Regions from separate parts of the Homo sapiens genome. Here region 2 is linked to region 1. The links are contacts of gene promoters, found by promoter capture Hi-C in blood cells and fetal thymus (Javierre and others, 2016). All regions are on one chromosome and are shown on one strand. The core of a region is centred on a gene start or on the middle of the fragment in contact, and the rest is flanking DNA. Distances in the headings are between cores, read along the strand shown.

Evidence for each region. Contacts are between HindIII fragments. The CHiCAGO score rates a contact against its expected background, and 5 or more counts as called.
Region 2: a contact is called between a fragment that was not itself captured here and the fragment with the promoter of CCDC154 in region 1, in 1 of 17 cell types (endothelial precursors). The highest score is 5.9, in endothelial precursors.

Annotation. Positions count from the first base shown.
Region 1 is chr16:1,442,089-1,445,805 of GRCh38, forward strand. It overlaps CCDC154 (coiled-coil domain containing 154), which reads right to left and starts at 2,468. Exons shown (of 17, transcript NM_001143980.3): 1 at 2,228-2,468; 2 at 1,708-1,924; 3 at 1,418-1,607; 4 at 1,173-1,213; 5 at 792-887; 6 at 318-441. The coding sequence starts at 2,234. CLCN7 (chloride voltage-gated channel 7) reads right to left here. Exons shown (of 25, transcript NM_001287.6): 25 at 2,847-3,717. The HindIII fragment of the contact is 15,368 bases long and covers 1-3,717 here.
Region 2 is chr16:1,699,091-1,702,807 of GRCh38, forward strand. It overlaps JPT2 (Jupiter microtubule associated homolog 2), which reads left to right. Exons shown (of 5, transcript NM_144570.3): 5 at 1-2,996. Among named protein-coding and RNA genes, the nearest start is that of MAPK8IP3, 5.2 kb to the right of the region's middle. The HindIII fragment of the contact is 1,383 bases long and covers 1,082-2,464 here.

The DNA of each region.
Region 1 (3,717 bases), core at 1,218-3,717:
TGTATTTTTAGTAGAGATGGGGTTTCACCATGTTGGCCAGGCTGGTCTTGAACTCCTGACCTTGTGATCTGCCCGCCTCAGCCTCCCAAAGTGCTGGGATTACAGGCGTGAGCCACCGTGCCCAAACAACCTGAACTTTTGAAATGGGGCATGTGCGGCTGAGGAATTGAGTTTTACATTGTCTACAACTATAGCTGATTTCAGTGGACACAGATACATGGTGAACGGCCGCTGTATCGGATGGCACAGGCCGAGAGGGTTAGGGTCTCCTCCTCGGCCCTCTGGGCGGCCCCCCTGAAGCCTGGGCCTGGTGGTACCTGCATTCTGGCCACCTCCAGGTCCACCCTCCGGCTGCTGTCCTCTTGGTTCTTCTGCAGGGCGCCGCAGGCCACCTCCCGGCCCTGCTCCTCCTGCTGCAGCAAGTCGGTCAGCTTGGCCAGTCTAGAGAAGTCGGCTGTGGTCACACCAGCCCAGCTGGCCGGAGGGCCCAGCAGGGTGAGGCTGACCCACAGGCTGGCCAGGCAGGAGGTGTACGACCCCCGCCCCCTGCCCCACCAGAAAACAGAGGAATGGGAAACACAGCACCGGTGGCAGGGAAGGGCTGCTGCGAGTCTCTTCCCCACAGAGGGTCCGCAGCGGGCCCAGGCTTCCCAGCACGCTTGGCACCGAGGGCGGTGCCCCGCCGGGTTACTGGGGACACACGGCAGGGGGACCCGTGTCTTGGCTCAGCCAGGGACTCTCAAATGACCCCACGCAAGCTCCGGAGCCAGCCACGGGCGGTGGGCGCCCACCTGAGGCCGGCCTCTTGCTCGGCGCCCCTTCTCTCCGCCTCCTGTTGCACCTGCCTCCTCCTGAGCCGGGTCAAGGCTTCCCGGACCTCCACCAGCCTGGGACACAACAAGCCATTCCCGAGAGGCCCAGGCGGGCTGAGCAGCCTCGGCGGGCTGGGGGTCTGGCCAAGGGGCCCCTGTGGCCACCTCCCATGGCTTTCCTGGGCCTCTGAAGGCCGCCCAGGCACGTACAAACCCGGCCTTTTCTAGCTGGACCTGGATGTGTATCCCCCACTCCAGCGACACCCAGCGGGAGATGTGGACCCCCCACCACACCTGCCGCTGCTTTCTCGCCACCACCTCCCCGCCCTGGGCCTGTGCCCCTAGGTGTGTGGGGGGTACCTTTTGTCCAGGGCCTGCATCTGGTTCTGGAGACCAGAGAACTGCGAGGAGGAAGAGGAGGCTGTGGGCTGGACCTAGGCCCGGGTCTGGCACCTGCCCCTGGAGTCCACCCAGCTCCGGCACCACTGGCCCCTGGGAGCTCTGGGCCTGGGCAGCAGGGGTGAGCTGGGCTCCAGGCCCAGAAGCAGCTGCCCCCAACACCCAGGAAAGGGGCAGCTCGACCTGTGGGTGGGGGAGCCGCTCACCTCCGGCGCCTCCTTTTCGGGGGCCTGGGCTGCCGGCCGCGCCTCCTGCTGCAACTGCCTCAGCTCTGAGCCCTGCAGCTGCACGCGGGCCCGCACCTGGAGCAGCTCCCGCAGCAGGCTCCGCGTGGCGCGCTCACAGCGCTGCTTGTGCTCCCGCAGGCAGGCCACCTCGGCCTGCAGCTCCACCACCCTGGCCGGGGCGAGAGTGGGCGAGTCTGGCGGTGCCCGCCGTGGAGGCGGAGGCGGCGGCGACGTGGTCCTCCCCCGCCAGCACCCCCTGCAGGGCTCACCACTGCTCCAGCTGGTTCCAGTGCTTGGCGGTGTCCTGCTCGGGGACAGAGGCCGTGGATGTCGGATGGCTGGACTCATACCTCTCCGAGAGCTCCTCCAGGCTCAAGGGCTCGGGGCTGGCCAGGCCTCCTGCCAGGAGGAGCCCCAGGTCTTCCAGGGTGACGGCTCTCAGCTGGGAAGGGGCCGATGCCCCTGAGGGTCCACTGTCAGCCAACTCTACAAGGAGGCATCTTGGGAGCTTGCCCCTTGGGGCCCGGCCCCCACTGGAGCTTACGGGAACAAGGCCCCAAACCCCCGCAGGACCCTCGCCCACCACCCAGAGCTCAACGCGTCTCCTTGGGTCACACAGGATCCAGACGGGCTTGGCTCAGACAAGTCCAGGGCCCTGCCTGAAGACACACAGCACTGGGCGGCAGGAACAAGCGAGCTGGAGGGAGCCCGGGGTCAGAAGCAGAGCGGTCCCCACCCTCACACCTGTGGCAAGCCCCTCCCTGGGCCCCGCTCCTCCGCTCTGGTCACCTGACATGGCTGCTGGGCTGCACCGGCCACCCTGCCCTCGGCTGTAGCTTGGGCCTTGGGGCCTCTGAGGTTGCCCAGAGCTGGGCACAGGCCAGGGGGGTCAGGAGCCAGAGGAAGTCCCGTGAGAGCTCTGGGCCTTGAGGGACGAGCTGCTGCCCTCGTCTGGCTGCCTTCTCAGGGTCCCCAGGGAGGCAGGTGTGGGGCAGCGGGGCCGTTCCAGAACCTTCCTTCTCTCCCCAGAACCTCACGGCTTCACAGCCCAACTGCCAATGGAACTCTAGCCCTCAGCTCTCCCACTCCCGCAGGGCCCCCCAACTGCCTGCTTCTGGATGGATCTGAGGGGCCCCACTCCCGAGAGGGCGCAGACACGTGTCCTCTGGCAAAGGGGACTTCTTCAGCTGCCGAGGGAGGGGAAGGAGGCCCTGACGAGGCCTGGGCACGCCGGGAGGGACGCTGGGAGCAGGGAGGCCGAGAGCCCCAGGACACCCCGGACACAGCCAGGCCCACGTCCGAGCGGAGCCCGAGGCCTGGGCAGCGCCATCGGGGTGAGGGGCACAGCCGGGCTCCACGGGAACCCATCTTGCTCAGCAGCCCCATTAAAAGGCAAGAAGCAGCGATGTGAATCCTAACCGCTGATTTTATTTAACCGAATATATCCAAAATATGATCACTTCCAGGTCCTCAGTACACAACCACCACGAGGGAAACCCAGACCTAGGTTTCCGGCGCCGACTCTGAGGCCCGGGAGTTTTCTTCTTGCGTCACCCCAGCGTGGGCACCCCGGCCCGCCCCCCTCCACCTGGAGCGCCTCTGCCTTGCCCCCAGACCCACCAGCCAGGAGCCAGAGGAGGGAGGCTGAGGGGCGGGGACGAGGAAGAGGATGTGGCTGGTGCCCTGGGTGGCCGCAGCCGCTGTCTTTCACGCCTTTCTCACTCCACACGGTGCCCCGACCCCAGGGTCCCGAAAGTCCCAGGCTGTTGGACGTGGTCTGGGTGGGGTGGGAGGGACGACGCTGGCAAAGGCGGGCTGAGAGGATTTCTTTATTTCGCGTTCAGACCCAACACACTCGGACACCTTGGGGCCCTGTGAGGGCTAAGCAGGGTGGTGGCGTCAGCTCCCGGGGAGGCCCCACTCCCTGGGGAGGAAATACACGGCAGGGGGCCGCACCCAGCCCCCCACGGAGGGACCCGTGTTGCTCTAACAGGGACACTGAAGTTGCCTCTGCCGCCCCGTGAGGGGCCTGTGGCGGCCCCAGACCCAGCCCAGCCAGGCCAGAGGAGCCTCCCAGGGGCCCTCAGGTGGTGAGGTGGGGGCTTCCCGGCCCCGGTGCCCACCGGCCCTTCTAGCTGCCTGTGCTGGGCCAGGTGTCCTCTGAGGCCGGCAGGAGTCTGGCCCCCGCTGCACCTGCGCTTGGTGGCTGGCAGGGGCGGGGTAGGGAGGTCACCCTCGAGGCCGGGGTCCCCATGTGCTAGGGGAAGACCTGCCTTCCC
Region 2 (3,717 bases), core at 523-3,022, 260 kb after region 1:
GAAGAGGGTTAGTCTTATGTGAGCCTGGCTGCTCAGCGTCTCCTGGCCGTCATGACAGCTGCTTGGAGACCCGTGCCTTCCAGATGGCTGGGAGATGCCTCTGTGGGGATGAAATGGGGCACCCCTGGCCATCACTCATGTGTAGTCCAGGTTTGAGAGGAACTGGAAGGGGGGTGAGGGTGGGGAGGTGGGGCAGGGCATGGTCCTTGGATCAACAGCCCGCCAGCTGATTGGATGTCTAGGAATGACTGAAAGAAACCAAAACAGCCTGTCCACTGCTGCTGTGGGATGGAGGAGGCGTAAGCAGAAACACTAACAGTATATTGACCTCTTAGCAGAACCGCTTCCATTCTGGAGATCACGGCTGCTAAATCCAGCATCCCCACTTCATTTTACCCCCAGCATATTGTTCTGTAGTCTTTTCTTGAAACATCTTGATTGCTTTTCCTCGGCAGCTTTCAAAAAACCAAATAATAATAGTTATCCGTCTTCTACTTCATGGAAGATTGTTTTGGTGCCCTGACCCTCTGAAGTGCCCAGTTCCTGCCATCTGAAACCTCGGCCTGATCTGATCTCATGTTGGAATCTGCCTGTCTTTCACACAGGGCTGGTCTTGGTCCTTTACATGCCAGTTTTGCTTGTGAATTCTTGCTTTTTTCCTCTCATCAGCCTTAAGTTTAGGCGTTTGTTGTTCTCCAGTGATGTAGACAGTTCCCTTCACAAGTCACAGTTCTTCCCATAAATGAGGCCCGCTGACCTCTGCGGGACTTTAAAAATCTATTCAGATATTTCCGAGTAAGTGGCTTGTTTAAATTCTTCCTGTGTCTTTCTTTATTCCTTAATTGGTTGGTGGAAAGAAGAGATGCTTGGGAACCTTGGGTTCTTAGGTTTGGATTCTTTAATAATATCTAAAAAGCTAAATTTTAAATACCAGCTTTACATAAATGATTGTTGACTCTGGTCTGTTTCTGACACCTTTCCAGAAAAAAGTCAATTGTTCAGGTACACCAAAGAGGAAGAAGAGCTGTGGAGGCCACCCTCTACAAAGCTTTATAGAACTTCTGGATCTAACTCACAAACAAGCTTCCAGAAGAGACTAGAGACCTTAGGCCAGGAGATGAAGGAGTTCAGTAGCAAAGTCACACCTGTCCAATTCCCTGAGCTTTGCTCACTCAGCTAATGGGATGGCAAAGGTGGTGGTGCTTTCATCTTCAGGCAGAAGCCTCTGCCCATCCCCCTCAAGGGCTGCAGGCCCAGTTCTCATGCTGCCCTTGGGTGGGCATCTGTTAACAGAGGAGAACGTCTGGGTGGCGGCAGCAGCTTTGCTCTGAGTGCCTACAAAGCTAATGCTTGGTGCTAGAAACATCATCATTATTAAACTTCAGAAAAGCAGCAGCCATGTTCAGTCAGGCTCATGCTGCCTCACTGCTTAAGTGCCTGCAGGAGCCGCCTGCCAAGCTCCCCTTCCTACACCTGGCACACTGGGGTCTGCACAAGGCTTTGTCAACCAAAGACAGCTTCCCCCTTTTGATTGCCTGTAGACTTTGGAGCCAAGAAACACTCTGTGTGACTCTACACACACTTCAGGTGGTTTGTGCTTCAAAGTCATTGATGCAACTTGAAAGGAAACAGTTTAATGGTGGAAATGAACTACCATTTATAACTTCTGTTTTTTTATTGAGAAAATGATTCACGAATTCCAAATCAGATTGCCAGGAAGAAATAGGACGTGACGGTACTGGGCCCTGTGATTCTCCCAGCCCTTGCAGTCCGCTAGGTGAGAGGAAAAGCTCTTTACTTCCGCCCCTGGCAGGGACTTCTGGGTTATGGGAGAAACCAGAGATGGGAATGAGGAAAATATGAACTACAGCAGAAGCCCCTGGGCAGCTGTGATGGAGCCCCTGACATTACTCTTCTTGCATCTGTCCTGCCTTCTTTCCCTCTGCGAGGCAGTGGGGTGGGATTCAGAGTGCTTAGTCTGCTCACTGGGAGAAGAAGAGTTCCTGCGCATGCAAGCCCTGCTGTGTGGCTGTCGTTTACATTTGGGAGGTGTCCTGTATGTCTGTACGTTGGGGACTGCCTGTATTTGGAAGATTTAAAAACCTAGCATCCTGTTCTCACCCTCTAAGCTGCATTGAGAAATGACTCGTCTCTGTATTTGTATTAAGCCTTAACACTTTTCTTAAGTGCATTCGGTGCCAACATTTTTTAGAGCTGTACCAAAACAAAAAGCCTGTACTCACATCACAATGTCATTTTGATAGGAGCGTTTTGTTATTTTTACAAGGCAGAATGGGGTGTAACAGTTGAATTAAACTTAGCAATCACGTGCTCAGAGCTTTTGCCTGTCAGTTGTGTGTGTCCCTTATAGTCCCTTCCCCCACAGCTCTTGCTGAAAGAGTTTGCCTTGTTTTGTTTTGTTGTTTTGTATTTAGCCAGAGGATGCCAAAATTAGTCTTCTCAAAGCTTTGAGTAGAGTAAGTGTGGGAATAAGCCAGTTTTTTTTTTTCTGTTTCTGTAACTTAAATGAACGGGTTTTTTTCCCTTGTATGCCACTTGTCCTAACATGTCCTTAAGGTGTTTAACCTGCCTCTGACCTGGCTTGCAATGCATAGGTGAGGAGAAGCAGAGAGCTTGTCATATGCAAGTCCTGTCAAGAAAACAGGTGGGCATGGTGGCTCAGGTCTGTAGTCTTTGGGTCTTTGGGAGGCCAGGGTGGGAGGATCACTTGAGCTCAGGAGTTTGAGACCAGCCTAGACAACATACTACGACCCTGTCTATACAAAAAAAAACTTCTCTAAATTAGCCGGATGTGGTGGTGCATGCCTGTAGTCCCAGCTACTCGGGAGGCTGAGTGAGGCAGGAGGATCACTTGAGACCAGGAGGTTGTGGCTGTAGTGAGTGATGATCATGCCACTGCACTTCAGCCTGGACCACAGAGCAAGACCCTGTGTAAAAAAATAAAATAAAAAACAGATTGGATGTCTTTCTTCTGATGTATTAGCTATTTTCATATGTTTTCTAACATACTTAATATCCTTACAGGCATTATGTGGATTCAGGGTAAACTTCTCAGACTGTGAGCCTGAGAGTTCCTCTCTAGGAGGCTCCACACCATTCTGCCTGCTAGATCGGGGCCAGATGAGATGAAAGTCAACGCTTGAGAAAGAAAACCAACATGCATTAACTGAAACACCGTCTTCACTTGTTCATCCACAGGGTATAGAGCGAGTTCCAAGAACCAGGCTAGGAAATGACACGCTAAGTTTCCTATTTCTAGCAGCTGCCAAGGCCACCAGCAAGCATGGGAACCTCTGGGAGTCACAGCTCCTCCGTCTCCAGAGGCCTGGCAGTGGCCAAGTCTAGAAGGACGCGGGTGCCACCTGGTACAGGGTGAGGGTGTGAATAACAGACCCCGAAGGGTTGCCACCTCGAGCCCCGTGCCTTGTCCAGGAATACACAGGCTCTTTTGATGTCAGGTAACTTTGCCATATGATCTTTGTGGTGTACCTGGTAGGTCACACCCTGTGAGTGTGTAGATGCCTCCTCCCGTGCTGGCTGCTTAATTTCTTCTGCACTCATAATCCTGACCATCTTGAAGATCATCACTGAAATACTCCTGTGTAATGTGTGGCTACAAAGTGCTATCTAAAGATGCTCTCTCAAACTCAGCTCATGAAGATGAGAGGAACATCACAGGGAACTGTGTGGCTTCTT